Linked DNA regions of Homo sapiens: all the other regions are linked to region 1. Evidence: promoter capture Hi-C in human tissues and cell types (Jung and others, 2019). All regions are on one chromosome and are shown on one strand. Each heading gives the region's core, a stretch centred on a gene start or on the middle of the fragment in contact. The rest is flanking DNA. Distances are from core to core; before and after follow the strand shown.

Evidence for each region. Contacts are between HindIII fragments. The study calls those that stand out against the background at their distance.
Region 2: the fragment with the promoter of KLK13 here is called in contact with a fragment that was not itself captured in region 1 in 4 of the 25 tissues and cell types used here (H1 embryonic stem cells, dorsolateral prefrontal cortex, pancreas and 1 more).
Region 3: the fragment with the promoter of C19orf81 here is called in contact with a fragment that was not itself captured in region 1 in 3 of the 25 tissues and cell types used here (dorsolateral prefrontal cortex, pancreas and spleen).

What each region holds. Positions count from the first base shown.
Region 1 is chr19:50,842,177-50,846,465 of GRCh38, forward strand. The region is part of intron 2 of LOC105372441 (a long non-coding RNA gene); the gene reads left to right. Among named protein-coding and RNA genes, the nearest start is that of KLK3, 11 kb to the right of the region's middle. RefSeq lists enhancers at 1,717-2,239, 2,240-2,761. The HindIII fragment of the contact is 7,245 bases long and covers 1-4,289 here.
Region 2 is chr19:51,063,251-51,067,539 of GRCh38, forward strand. KLK13 (kallikrein related peptidase 13) reads right to left here and starts at 1,842. Exons shown (of 5, transcript NM_015596.3): 1 at 1,766-1,842. The coding sequence starts at 1,817. The HindIII fragment of the contact is 7,460 bases long and covers 1-4,162 here.
Region 3 is chr19:50,647,354-50,651,642 of GRCh38, forward strand. It overlaps C19orf81 (chromosome 19 open reading frame 81), which reads left to right and starts at 2,092. Exons shown (of 5, transcript NM_001195076.2): 1 at 2,092-2,158. The coding sequence starts at 2,092. It also overlaps a transcript of SYT3 not described here. RefSeq lists an enhancer at 976-1,025. The HindIII fragment of the contact is 25,500 bases long and covers 1-4,289 here.

The DNA of each region.
Region 1 (4,289 bases), core at 535-3,034:
GTTTCTCTAGAGCATCAGAGCATGTTTGTTCACTGTCTTAGATAATAAAGATAATGTCCTTCCATAATGATTTATTTATTGGCTAGGATAGTAAATACAACATGTCCTTCCGGGGCAGGTGGATCAGCAGTCCGACATAACAAAGATAATATCTCTCCGAGTTTCAAAGTCAAGCAGATTTCCTTGCATCTCCCTTATAAGATTGAAGATTTGTAAATACATGTAAACAGAGGTTCCCCAGCATTGACGCAAACCACTGTGTGCGCAGCATCTGCCTGAGCCACTCTGATCATCCCTGTAGGACCTGGGGGGCAAGGTGAGCCCATGTGAACATGAATCTCATGCTGCCGGCTGTGCCATGAGTAATAAAGTCCTTTGTCTCTGACCCGGAGTTGTTGTGTGTTCTGCCAATAGTTTCACTGGATACAAAATTCTTGGCTGATAATTGTTTTGTATAAGGAGGCTAAAGACAGGACCACAATCCCTTCTAGGTTGTAGGGTTTTTGCTGAGAAATCTGCTGTCAATCTAATAGGTTTTCCTTTATAGGTTACCTGATGCTCCTTCATCTTGACTTTAGATAACCTGATGACTATGTGCCTAGGGGGGTCATCTTTTTTTTGTTTTGTTTTGTTTTGAGATGGAGTCTCACTCTGTTGCCCAGGCTGGAGTGCAGTGGTGCGATTTCGGCTCACTGCAACGTCCGCCTCCCGGGTTCAAGAGACTCTTCCGCCTCAGCCTCCCGAGTAGCTGGGATTACAGGTGCGTGCCACCACACCCGGCTACTTTTTTATATTTTTAGTAGAGAAGGGGTTTCACTGTGTTAGCCAGGATGGCCTCGATCTCCTGACCTTGTGATTGGCCTGCCTAAGTCTCTTAAAGTTCTGGGATTACAGGCGTGAACGACTACGCCCGACCAGTGGTCATCTTTTTGCAATGAATTTCCCAGGCGTTCTTTGAGCTTCTCATGTTTGGATATCTAGATCTCTAGCAAGGCCAAGGAAGATTATTCCCCTCAAATATGTTTTCCAAACTTTTAGATTTATCTTCTTCCTTGGGAACATGAATTATTCTTAGGTTGGTTGTTTAACATAATCCCAAACTTCTTGGAGGTCTTGTTCATTTTTTAAAAATACTTTTTTCTTTGTCTTTGTTGGATTGGGTTAATCCAAAAGTCTTGTCTTTGGGCTCTTAAGTTCTTTCTTCTACTTGTTTGATTCTATTGCTGAGACTTTCCAGTGTATTTTGCATTTCTCTAAGTGTGTCCTTCATTTCCAGAAATTGTAATTGTTTTTGATTTACGCTATTTCTCTGGAGATTTTTCTGTCCATATCCGGTAACACTTTTTAAAATTTCTTTAAGTTGGTATTCACCTTTCTCTGGTGCCTTCTTGAGTAGCTTAGTAATTGATCTTCTGATTTTTTTTTTTTCTGGCAATTTCAGAGATTTCTTTTTGGTTTGGATCCATTGTTGGTGAGCTGGTGTGATCTTTTTGGCGTGTTAAATAACCTTGTTTTGTCGTATTACCAGAATTGGTTTTCTGGTTCCTTCTCCTTTGTAGACTATGTCAGAAGGAAGATCTGGGTCTCAAGGGCTGCTCAGATTCTGGATTTAGCTACCCAGTGGAGCGTCTGCGCTCTGGGCTGGTACTGGGGGGTGTCTGCAAAGAGTCCTGTGATGTGATTCATCTTCAGGTCTCTTAGCTGTGGATATCAGCACCTGCTCCGTTGGAGGTAACAGAGGAGTAAAGTAGACTCGCTGGGGTTCCTTGGTTGTATTATTTTTTAGTGCGCTGGTTTTGTGTTGGTTGGCCTCCAGCCAGGAGACGGCACTTTCAAGACAGCATCAGCTGCAGTAGTACAGGGAGGAAAACAGCTTGCCCTAGGGTTACCTGGATAAGTATTCAGGTTTCTCAGGTGGAGGATGGGGCCAGATAGCTTCCAAGAGAGTATGTCCTTCGTCTTTGGCTACTAGGGCAGGTAGAGGAACACCATCAGGTGGGGGCAGGGTTAGGGGTGTCTGAGTTCAGACTCTCCTTGGGTAAGGGTCGCTGTGGCTGCTGTGTGGGGGTGGGGTGTGGTTCTCAGGCCAATGAGGTTATGTTCCCAGGGGAATTATGGCTGCCTCTACTGCATCATGTGGGTCACCAGGGAAGTGGGAGAAAGCCAGCAGTTTCAGGGCTCACCCAGCTCCCATGCAGCCCAAAAAGCTGGTCTCATTCCCACTGTGTGCATCCCCAATCAATGCACAGTTTGTTTGCAGGCAGCAGGTGCGCAGGGCTGGGAACTCGCCCCAGGCTACAAGCCTCCCTGCTGAGAAAGCAAGCAGGGCTTTCAGGTTTCGTGCCTCCCCACCTGCTGCAGCTTCTGTGCTCATGTCTGCACTCACAGTTCACCCCCTCCCCTGAGTTCTGTCCAGGAAACTTCGTGTTCAGTTGAAATTGTTGCAAAGTTCAGCTGGAAGCTTCCTTCTCCCTGTAGTCTTTCCCCAATTCCGTTGGCAGCCCTCCCCAAGGACCCCTGTGAGATGAAGTCAGAAATGGCTTCCCTGGGGACCAACAGTACCCTCAGGGCTCTTCCTGCTGCTTTCTCTACCCCCCGTATTTCATTCAGCTCTCTAAGTTCATCTCGGCTCCAGGTAAGGTCAAATCCTTCTCCCATGATCTGGACCTTCAGATTCCCCAGTGAGGATGTGTGTGCAGGGGCGGATGATCCCCCCTTCACACTTTTCACACTTTGAGCACTCACAGTTTTTCAGCTGTCTCCTGGAGCCTGCAGCAGCAATGTGCTTCCTTCAAAGGGTCTGTGGGTTCTCTTGGCTTTCCTGGTATGTTCCTGCAGTAGTTCTTGGAGCAAAAATTCAAGACGTGAGTCTCCACATGCTGCTCTGTCCATCTGAGTGGGAGCTGCAAGTTAGTCCTGCTTCCTAGCCACCATTTTCTCCCCACATTAGCTTTTTGACTTTTCTTTATATATATATATATATATATATATATATATATATATATATATATATATATGTTTGTTTTTTTTAATTATACTTTAAGTTCTAGGGTACATGTGCACAACGTGCAGGTTTGTTACATATGTATACATGTGCCATGTTGGTGTGCTGCACCCATTAACTCGTCATTTACATTAGTTATATCTCCTAATGCTATCCCTCCCCCCACTTGACTTTTCTTTTTTATTAATTGCCTGTTCATATGCTTTGTCCATTTTTTTAGGGGTTGCTCTCTTGTTCATGTCAGAAGTTTCTTGTGCCTTCTAAATGGTGATCTCTTTTTGGTTTTGAACATTGTATAAGTCATCTTTTATAAATAGAAATTCTGAATTCTTATACAAGTTTCTGGATGACAGTGCCCTCTAAGCAAAAATTCTAAATTTTCCTATAATGAAGTACATCCAAATTTTGGTCTATGATTTGTGCTTCTGAAGTTGTGTCAAGAAGCCTTTTCTTTGTGTTAGATAACAAAGGTTATCTCTCATATTTTCTAGCCTCTCTAACCCTCTCTGTTTGTCCATCTGTTTCTGTATCTCATCCCATCTATATAGCTATTCATTAATTTCTCATTTAACTGATATTTGCTAGTTGTCACAACTGTGACTTGATGAAGATAACATAAACTCATAATAATATCCCTCAATAAGAAAAGGAACGATAAACTAGTGTCATTAGCTTATAAACCGTGTTAGATTAATTGGTGGATCAGAACACTTGAAATGTCCTGAAATCTTTCAGCTGACATTTGAAAGAAACTTACTATTATTTCTCCCCAAATTGGGCAAGAATCCTAGACAAATCATATGAAATTTAAATAAATAAAAGCTTTGAAGCTGAAAGAAATGTTTCTAAAGGATTAATAATGAAAAACAGATTTTGATCAAATATGATAAAAATGAAATTATTTTTCTTCCCCTAGAAAATGAGATTACAGGCCGGGTGTGGTGGCTTACACTTGTAATCCTAGCACTTTGGGAGGCCAAGGTGAGCGGATCATGAGGTCAGTAGTTCAAGATCAGCCTGGCCAACATGGTGAAACCCCGTTTCTGCTAAAAAAAAAAATACAAAAATTAGCCAGGTGTGGTGGCATGCGCCTGTAGTCCCAGCTGCTCGGGAGACTGAGGCAGAAGAATTGCTTGAACCCGGGAGGCAGAGGTTGCAGTAAGCCAAGATCGCACCACTGCACTCCAGCCTGGGCGACAGAGCGAGACTCTGTCTAAAAAAAAAAAAAAGAAAAGAAAAAGAAAATCAGATTACAAAATCATTTGATGATAAGCAGAGATAACTG
Region 2 (4,289 bases), core at 592-3,091, 220 kb after region 1:
AACATATTATTTTCTTTTCATTGTGCAGGATTTATTTCCTTCCTTACCTTCTATTTATGACAAAGAATTCTATTCTCTATTCAGGACAGTAATATAAAGTTGAACATGCTTTTGTTTGAGTGAAAAAAGAAGAAAAAAAGCTAACTTTAAGCAAATGATTAGGTCAAAAGTTATAAAAATGGTTTTCAGAGCCTCAAGTCCAGGATATGGACAGGGAAAACAACCTTGATTAGGATTCTGACTCAGGCATCGCCGGTGTCATTGGAGCAGGAGCCTTCTGTCTTTGAGTCCTAGGTTTCTCTGCCATGAAATTGGAGTAATTACAATGCACCTACCTCGCCAGGTTGTTGAGGACTCCACAAGGCGTAGCGTGTGGGTCTCCTAGCCTAGGGTGTGGCACTCAGGAGTGGCACGGGCATGAATCCAGGGAGTGTCGCCAGAGGAGAAAAGCCACCCCACCTTCAGGCCAAGGATGGTGCCAGGTGCCAGGCACCCACAGATCCCTCCTTTTTCAGGTCTTGGCTCAAGGGTCAAGCCCTTTGGGAAGGCCTCTGGTCGGGAAGCCGCCATTACATCTCTAGGCCCCTGGCTTGGCTCCTTGAAGTCTTCACCTCATGTCAAGATAATTATTAACTAATTATTTGGATAATTGTTTGAATAACATCTGCGTCTGTCCCCGCTAGACTCCAGGTGCTGAGAGCAGGGACTGTGTCTCTGCTTGTACAGCACCCAGCACAGTGGCCGGTGTTTAATAGCTGTTTGTTGAATGAATAAATGATTCATGAACGGGGTTTCCAGAGAACCTGCCTACAACGGCAGGGAAAGATGGGAAAGATCCATAAGGATCTTAAGGACTACCAATTTGGGGTGAGGTCACATAGGTTTGGGGTCAACCCAAGGATTAAAATAACAATCTAGAAGGTTCTGGAAGGGGCTGAGTATGAAGACAGAATACTAGAGGCCGGGCTCGGTGGCTCATGCCTGTAATCCTGGCACTTTGGGAGGCTGACGCGGGCTACTTGAAGTTAGAAGTTCGAGACCAGCCTAACCAACATGGCGAAACCCCGTCTCTGCTGAAAATACAAAAATTAGTTGGGCGTGGTGGCGGGCGCCTGTAATCCCAGCTACTCGGGAGGCTGAGGCAGGAGAATCGCTTCAACCCGGGAGGCGGAGGTTTCAGTAAGCCAAGATCGTGCCACTGCCTTCCAGCCTGGGAGACAGAGCAAGGTTCCATCTCAAAAAAAAAAAAAAAAAAAAAAAGGAATACTACTAATAAAGTAATAACGGCTAAGTGGCTAACTTTCAAGTCCCTTCTACCTGCGACATACTGAAGGCTCGACGCATTACCTCGTTTCAATATTCACAGTGACCTTCTCTGGTAAGCACTTATAGATTAAGCCCATTTTCCAGATGAAAACAATTTAGGCACAAAGCAGCTGCTAGGCTACTGGCTCAAAGCGGCAGCGTCAGGACGCGAACCCATGTCTTTCAGCTTTCCAGAGAGGACAGGAAGCCTTGAACGCGGGAGGGGCTGCTGCGAGGGTATTTTGGGAGGTGAAGGGTCTGGGGTCGGAGGGCCAACCTCAGCCGGGAAACCAGGTCACCCAGGGACAAGCAGGAAGAGCTCTGAGCTGTCCCCACTGGACCCGGCCCCGAGTGGGCGGGGGGCGGAGCTCGCGGCTCCCACGCCCCCTCCCCCTCCGGCCTGACCCCTCCTACCATTGTCCCGAATGGCCGCCGCGCCTCCACCCCCGCGCATTCTTACCTCCTGACAAGGCCAAGGTCAGGGAGGCGATCACTAGGGCCAGGGGCCACATGGCTCCGGGATCGGGAGGGGAGGGCAGGGCGGGCGGGGCCTGAGGAGAAGGTGAAGGGGGTGTTGAGGGCGTGCCCGGAACCTCCGCGTCTGAAACCTCTCTGCTCCTGAATGTCTCCTCGCCTCATTCACTCTTGACAGCCCTGACCCTGGAATCTGCCCCCCGCCTCCAATTCCATCCTTGGTGGGGGTGCAGTGGCGAGGTGGGAGGAACAGTGTGCAACCTCCTGGGGCTCCGGCGTGCAGCCCCTCACCCCAGGAAGCCGTCCCTCCTCCCCTGCCCTCTGGCGAGCTGGGTGGTCGGTGCACTCTCGCCCTTTTCCTCCAGAGTCTGCCTTCCATTCTACCCCTCTGGGTCTGTCCACACGCTTGGTATTAGCCCAAGTTCTTATCTGTCCGCGCCCTTCGCCTCTCTCCGTCTCTGCAGGTTTCTCTCTAGATCTGAGACTCTAGCTTCACTCTCCCTCTCCCTGACTCAGCTGCCCTTCTGCTTTCCCCATCCTTCCTATCCCCTCTTCTCTCCCCTCCCTGCCCTCCTCCGCTCCCCGCCCCCGCCCCAGGCAGACCCTACCTGAGTGAGGGGCCCACGAGGAGCGTCAGCCGCCAGCTGTCTAGAACTTCAGCCCCGAACCATGGCTTTTAACCCCTGAACTCCCTCCCCCAGCTCACTCAGCATTTCCTGGTCCCTGGCCTCCCCCTCTCCACCCCCAGTGGCTCAGCGGGATGTCTCCAGGCACCCCCGACCTGGGCTTGGCCCTCTGCTTGGGGCGGAGCTTCCAGGACGTGCTGGGACCTAGGTCTGACCCCGCCCAAGGCAGAGTTGAACCCACTGTGAACTTTCAGGCCTCAGGACCCAAAAAAGGGTAAGGGGAAAGCCCATTTCCTTCCCCCTACCCCGCTGAGTTCCATGCCCATCCCTAACTTCAACCCATTCTGCACCCAGTTTTCTAACCTCTTCTCCAACCCCATGCATAATTCTTAATAGGCAGTCAGCCCCCAGATGGCCGTGTTCTATCAGATTCCCACCTCCCTATCCATCCCTAACCATACCAAGTACTCCAGCCTGTTCCTCAACCCCAGTCCCATCTCCAACCTCATCTCAGGTTTAGCTCTCAACACATCCAGGTTCCAATTCCCAGTCTCATCTCAACCCTTTTTCTTTTGAAAGACACAAGGACACCCACAATTATCCCATCATCCTGCCTCCCTGCTCCCGCCAACCACCGGACACAAGAAGGAAATCATCAGCTGGGTGGATAGAAAATCAGCTCCCTCGGACTTGGATGGGGGCAGAGATGCGACCTGAGAAAGCAACATTTTCCAGAAATGGCCTTTTAGGAGCAGGGCCAGAGGGGGTGAGGGAGTCCACGGGGACCTAGGTGGAGAGGAAAAAGCAGGAGCCGGAAAGCTTTGAAGACGTGGATTGGGGGTGGGGGAGAGGAAGGAGGAAGGGGTGGTGTTTTGAGAATGAGTAGGTGTCTCCAGGAACTATGACTGGGTGGAGCCCTGAGTTAATCCTAGGGGGTGGAGGGGACAGGATTAGGGATTAAGGACTGAGGTGGGGTCAGAATTTGGAAGAAAGCCAGGGACGTGGACCAGATGAAGTTTGGAAAGAGTGAGAGAGTGGAGGTGTCACAATGAGGATAAAGAATAGAGATGGATGGGGCGAGGGCTCACATGGAAACTTGTACAGTCCTTATTGATGGAGTTCAGATTTGGATGTGGAGATCAAATCTAGTGTCAAAGGGTAACTTTTAAAACATGGTCTTACCATGACTCTCTGACATATATGAAATGAACATGTGTCAAAGATTGTATCTTGACTCATTAATAAATGGCAGAGCCAGTAAGATGTTACAAAGAGCCATATGCACAGAGACAACGAGGAATGCTGAAATGAATTTACAAATAGATGCAAAACTGGCTATTCCACACTGGGAGGAGGAGGGAAATCCATTGTACTTCCACCTGGCAAAATTCATGTAAACATTTATGGACAAGAATTATTTGCATTGCTCTCAGATACCTACAATTTAGAGTCATAAAGTGGCTCAAAGACAGGAAAGGGTACAGAGACCTCATAAAATCAGATAACCCATCTAACTTTGCATTGGCGACACCTCAGTGTCCAATGTTGGGTCCATTTCAAAGTATTTTGCTAAGAAGAAAAATATGGCTTAATATAGGAAATCAGTAGAGTCTATGGTTAAGGATGGGCCTGATGACAACATTAGGAATGCAATGAGTTTGGGGAGGTGAATGAAAATTGGATGAGGATGGGTATAGAGTTGGAGGTGGTAGTTGAGCTGGTTTTGGGATAGGATTAGATTGTAAGATGGGAGGTATCTAGGGATAAGTTGGTGTTGGGGTACTGTTGGGTTGGGGCTGAAGATGGAACCAAGATTGAGGTTTTGGATGGGGAAATGTTAAGATGTGGTTGAGCTGGGGTAGTGGGTTGACATGGGTGATGAGG
Region 3 (4,289 bases), core at 842-3,341, 190 kb before region 1:
GGGAGAGGAATGAGGGCGAGAGAATGGAGGATGGGGCGGCCAGGAGGCTGGGCCAGGTGTGGTGGCTCACACCTGTAATCCCAGCACTTTGGGAGGCTGAGGTGGGAGGATTGCTTGAGCCCCAGAGTTTGAGACCAGCTTGGGCAACACGGTGAGACTCCATCTTAAAAAAAATAAATAGCTGGGCGTAGTGGTGTGGGCCTGTGGTCCCCATTACTCGGGAGACTGAGGTGGGAGGATTGCTTGAGCCTGGGAGGTCAAGGCTGTTATACCGCTGCACTCCAGCCTGGGGGACACAGTGAGACCCTGTCTCAAAAACAAACAAACAAAAAAGGAGGCTGGGGCAAGGGTCCCAGCAGGAGAGGACGAGGTCTGAGTGGCTGCTAGAGCTATGGGAGTAGAGAGGAGAGGAAGGAGAGGCAGAAGGAATAGAACTTGGAGACAGATAGGCTGTGAGGGTCAGGTGTGCCTGTGGTCAAGGCAATCATGTCCTCCATCCCGCTGAGATAAAATTGCCAGCTGGAAATGGAAGACAGCTTGATGGGAGAGAAGCAGATGTGAAGATGCCAGGAGGGGGTCAGGGCCCCCAGAACTGAGTAAGACTATTTCAATCTGGACTGTTTTAATTGCTAATAACGGAAACGCAAATCAAATTGACCTAAGCATAAAAGGAAGTTTATTGATTGGATGAGGGCTTCAGGCATTGCTGGATCCAGGTGTTCCAATCATCTCCAGGAATCCAACTGTCTGTATCTTTGGGCTATGCTTCCCTCGTGTTGTCTTTGCTCTCAGGCAAGTTATCTCCCTGCATGGTGATGTGGTAGCACCGAGAGCTCCAACCCTGGCTCTGACCAGCCCCAAAACCACAGGGGAAAAACCCTGTTTTCTAACAGGTCCAGCAAAAGTCCAAAGGTTGACTTTGTAGCCTAGATTGATTCTTAAGCTCGCCACTGAACAAATCACTGAGGAAATCAAGGTGCCACCACCTAGAACGAATACTTAGTAAGCAGGAACAACAGACAGTCCAGAGACCATCTGGATGTGGAGAAAGAGGAAGAGAAAGAGATACAAGTAACAGAGACAAAGACTGCAAGGACAGACAAAACAAATAAGCGAAGGTCCAGCTTCCTCTCCCACAATTCCTGCAGAGAGCTCTGCAGACCCAGAGAAAGGGATGCTGAACAGGCACCTACACGGCTAGACCCCTTCTCTCTAGCACGAGAGGCCCCGTGAGACCCCAGACCCAGAAGTCCAGGCCCCCATCCTCTCCTCCCTCAGACCCAGGAGTCCAGACCCCAGGCCCTCCTCCCTCAGACCCAGGAATCCAGGCCCCCACCCCTCCCCCTCCCTCTGGAGGCACCATGGCAACCAGGCCCCCTGCCCACCATCCCCTCCCCACTAGAGAACCCACTTTCGTTGGAATCTCGCCTGTTTCTAACCAGTTCCTGGCTGGGGCAGGGATGAGCAGAGGGCAAGTGGGAACAGAAAGGGGATGACAGAGGGGAGGGGGCCTCAAGGGGGCAGTGGAGGCAGCTAGGAGAGGATAGAGATGGGGCAAGGAGACTGGTGAGAGGTGGGAAGACAGAGAGAGGGTGACGGGGTTAGGGAGAGGCAGAAAACGATGAAGACAAGGAGGGACGGGGGCCTGGGGAGATGCTGGGGAAACTGATGGAGACTGAAGAGATGGAGCCCAGGAGAGAAGGAGGGAGGAGGAGGGCAGAGAAATCAAGCAAAAGAGTGGTGGAGACGTGGGGACAGAGGGGAGGAGGCAGGGGGGCAGAGAGATGGGGAGAGAATGAGGAAGGGAGGTGGAGAGAGAGGGGTGGGGAAAGGGACTCTAGGAGACAGAGAGAGATAGGAGGAAAAACAGGGAAATGGGAAAGAAGGGATTGGGGCACACAGGGAGTCCCTGAGGTCAGGGGAACCCAGATCTCCACATGGTCTCAGCCTTCCAGTTCCTCTGTAATTCTACCCCGGGGCTTCAAAGAGGAGGTAGAGGAGGCAGCGGTGGGGAGAAGGAGCTGGGGTGGGTGGCCCAGGCAGAGCCTCTCTTGCCACCTTCCTGAGACATCCCTCACCCACCTTCCCAGGATGCAGCCAGAGGTGGAGCCCGTGTGCTTCCCTGCCATGGGCAGCCCCACCATGCACAGGAAGGCAGGTACTGAGCTGTGTCTTTGGGGGAAGGGGTGGACTTCCTCCATCCAGGCAGTGCGTAGTAGCCCGGGCTCACAGTGTGGCCTTAAGCGAGTCACTGGCACTCCAAAGTGAAAGCCATCCCTAGCATTCCTGGATTCACCAGATTCCTGGAGAGCGGCCCCCTTGGACCTCAAACTACATTTCCCATGAGCCTCTGCAGTTCCTTGGCCAATGCCCTGGACTCAGAACTACATTTCCCATGAGCCTCTGGGGCCTAAGCAACACCTCTGAGGCCATTCTTCTCCTAGGTAACCTCACTGTCTTGTCTCCCACCCTGAGCTCAGCATCTTCCCCCAAAGCTGCTCTCCTCCTTCCTGGTTTCCATTTTCAAATGGCCCCACCGCCAACCCAGTCACTGGTGCCATCCTTCCACCTCCCACAATTCCCTCCCACAGCCCATCAGGCCCTATCTTCCTGCCCTCTGACTCTCCCTTCCCCATTCCTTCCTCTCTGTCCCCGCAGCCCTGTCCCAGGTCTCATCCTCTTCCATGTGGACCCTCTCCTCACCTCCTCCCTGGTCCCCAGTTTCTCTCCTCCTACCTATCCCTCCATGGCTCCAGAGAGGTCTCTCTGACTTCCTGCAGTGATCCTGGCTGTCCCTTGCTCATAACACTTCCTAGCTTCCTGTCACCTCTAGGACAGAGACCCAAAGCTCCAGCCTGGCTTTTGAGGCCCTGTGTGGTCTGACCCCTGCTGACAACTTCAGGCTCCTAGCCCAGCACTTCCTGCTAGCACTCTGTGCTGTAGCACAGCTCATGCAGTTACACTCATTCAACATTTATGGAGTAGTATCTCAGTGAGGATGCATGTAACTGCAGGTAATAGAAAACCAAACTCAGGACTGGGTGTGGTGGCTCACGCCTATAATCCCAGCACTTTGGAGGCCGAGGTGAGTGGATCACCTGAGGTCAGGAGTTCAAGGCCAGCCAGCCTGGCCAACATGGTGAAACCCCATCTCTAAAAATACAAAAATTAGCCAGGTGTGGTGCCGGGTGCCTGTAATCCCAGTTACTAGGGAGGCTGAGGCAGGAGAATCGCTTGAACCCAGGAGGCAGAGGCTGCAGCGAGCCAAGATTGTGCCACTGCACTCCAGCCTGGGTGATGGAGGGAGACTCTGTCTCAAAAAACAAAACAAACAAACAAACAAACAAAAACACCCAAAACCAAAACTCACTGCAGCCTTGAGCTCCTGGCTCAAGTGATCCTCCCACCTCAGCCTTCGAGGCCGAACAAATGCCCTGATGGCAAAACAGGCGTTGTTTCTCTGCCTTTAGGTCTCTTTTAGTGCTTTTGAAGGCATCTTTCTTTTGGAGACCCCACAATGCACCATCTCTAGCCTAGACTGAGGCACCCACGTGACATGTAATTTATATGTAGCTCCAGAAAAGTCAAGTGGAGTTGAGTCGACCAGTTGGCTAGTTTTGTTGATCGACGTTTGTTCATTTCGATTTTGCTGTTTTCTTTGCAGCGTTGTGGAACCAATCACATTTTTTAGTTGATCAGGTTGCAAACTTCAGCATAGGCCATTAGAAAGCCCCTGGGTCCCAAGCATTTTGCCTGTAGTGCCTAATGGATGAAACGGCCTGGCTTGTTCTCATGCTGGGAGAGGAGACGTGAAACACGCCATCTCACAGATCATTCATAGCCTCCAATGGCAATAAGCGCTCTTTAGTCTTGGGGCTCAAGGGAATTCTGGGAAGTTCTTGCAGGTGACTCTCTTCTCTTTTGCTCAAAAACCTTGGCCCATGCTAGGCCCTTCATGGGAAACATCCTTCTCTCTGTCACCTCTTTATTTGGTAAATACCTTCTTATTCTTTAGGTCTCACTGTGGACACCTCCTCTAGAGAGCCTTCCCTGATTGCCCCTAGACCGGGAGACTGGGCTTTCCCTCCACCTTGTAACACTTTCATTGAAACACACATTGCCCTTTATCTGAGAGTTCTGAAAGGGCAGAGGTGTGTCTCATTCATCTCTTGGTCCCCAGCATCCTCCAAGGCACACAGGGGCCCTCTGAGATGCCTGTTAAAAAAATTTAACCAGCTACTTGGGAGGCTGAGACAGGAAGATCCCTTAAGCCCAGGAGTTCCTGGCTG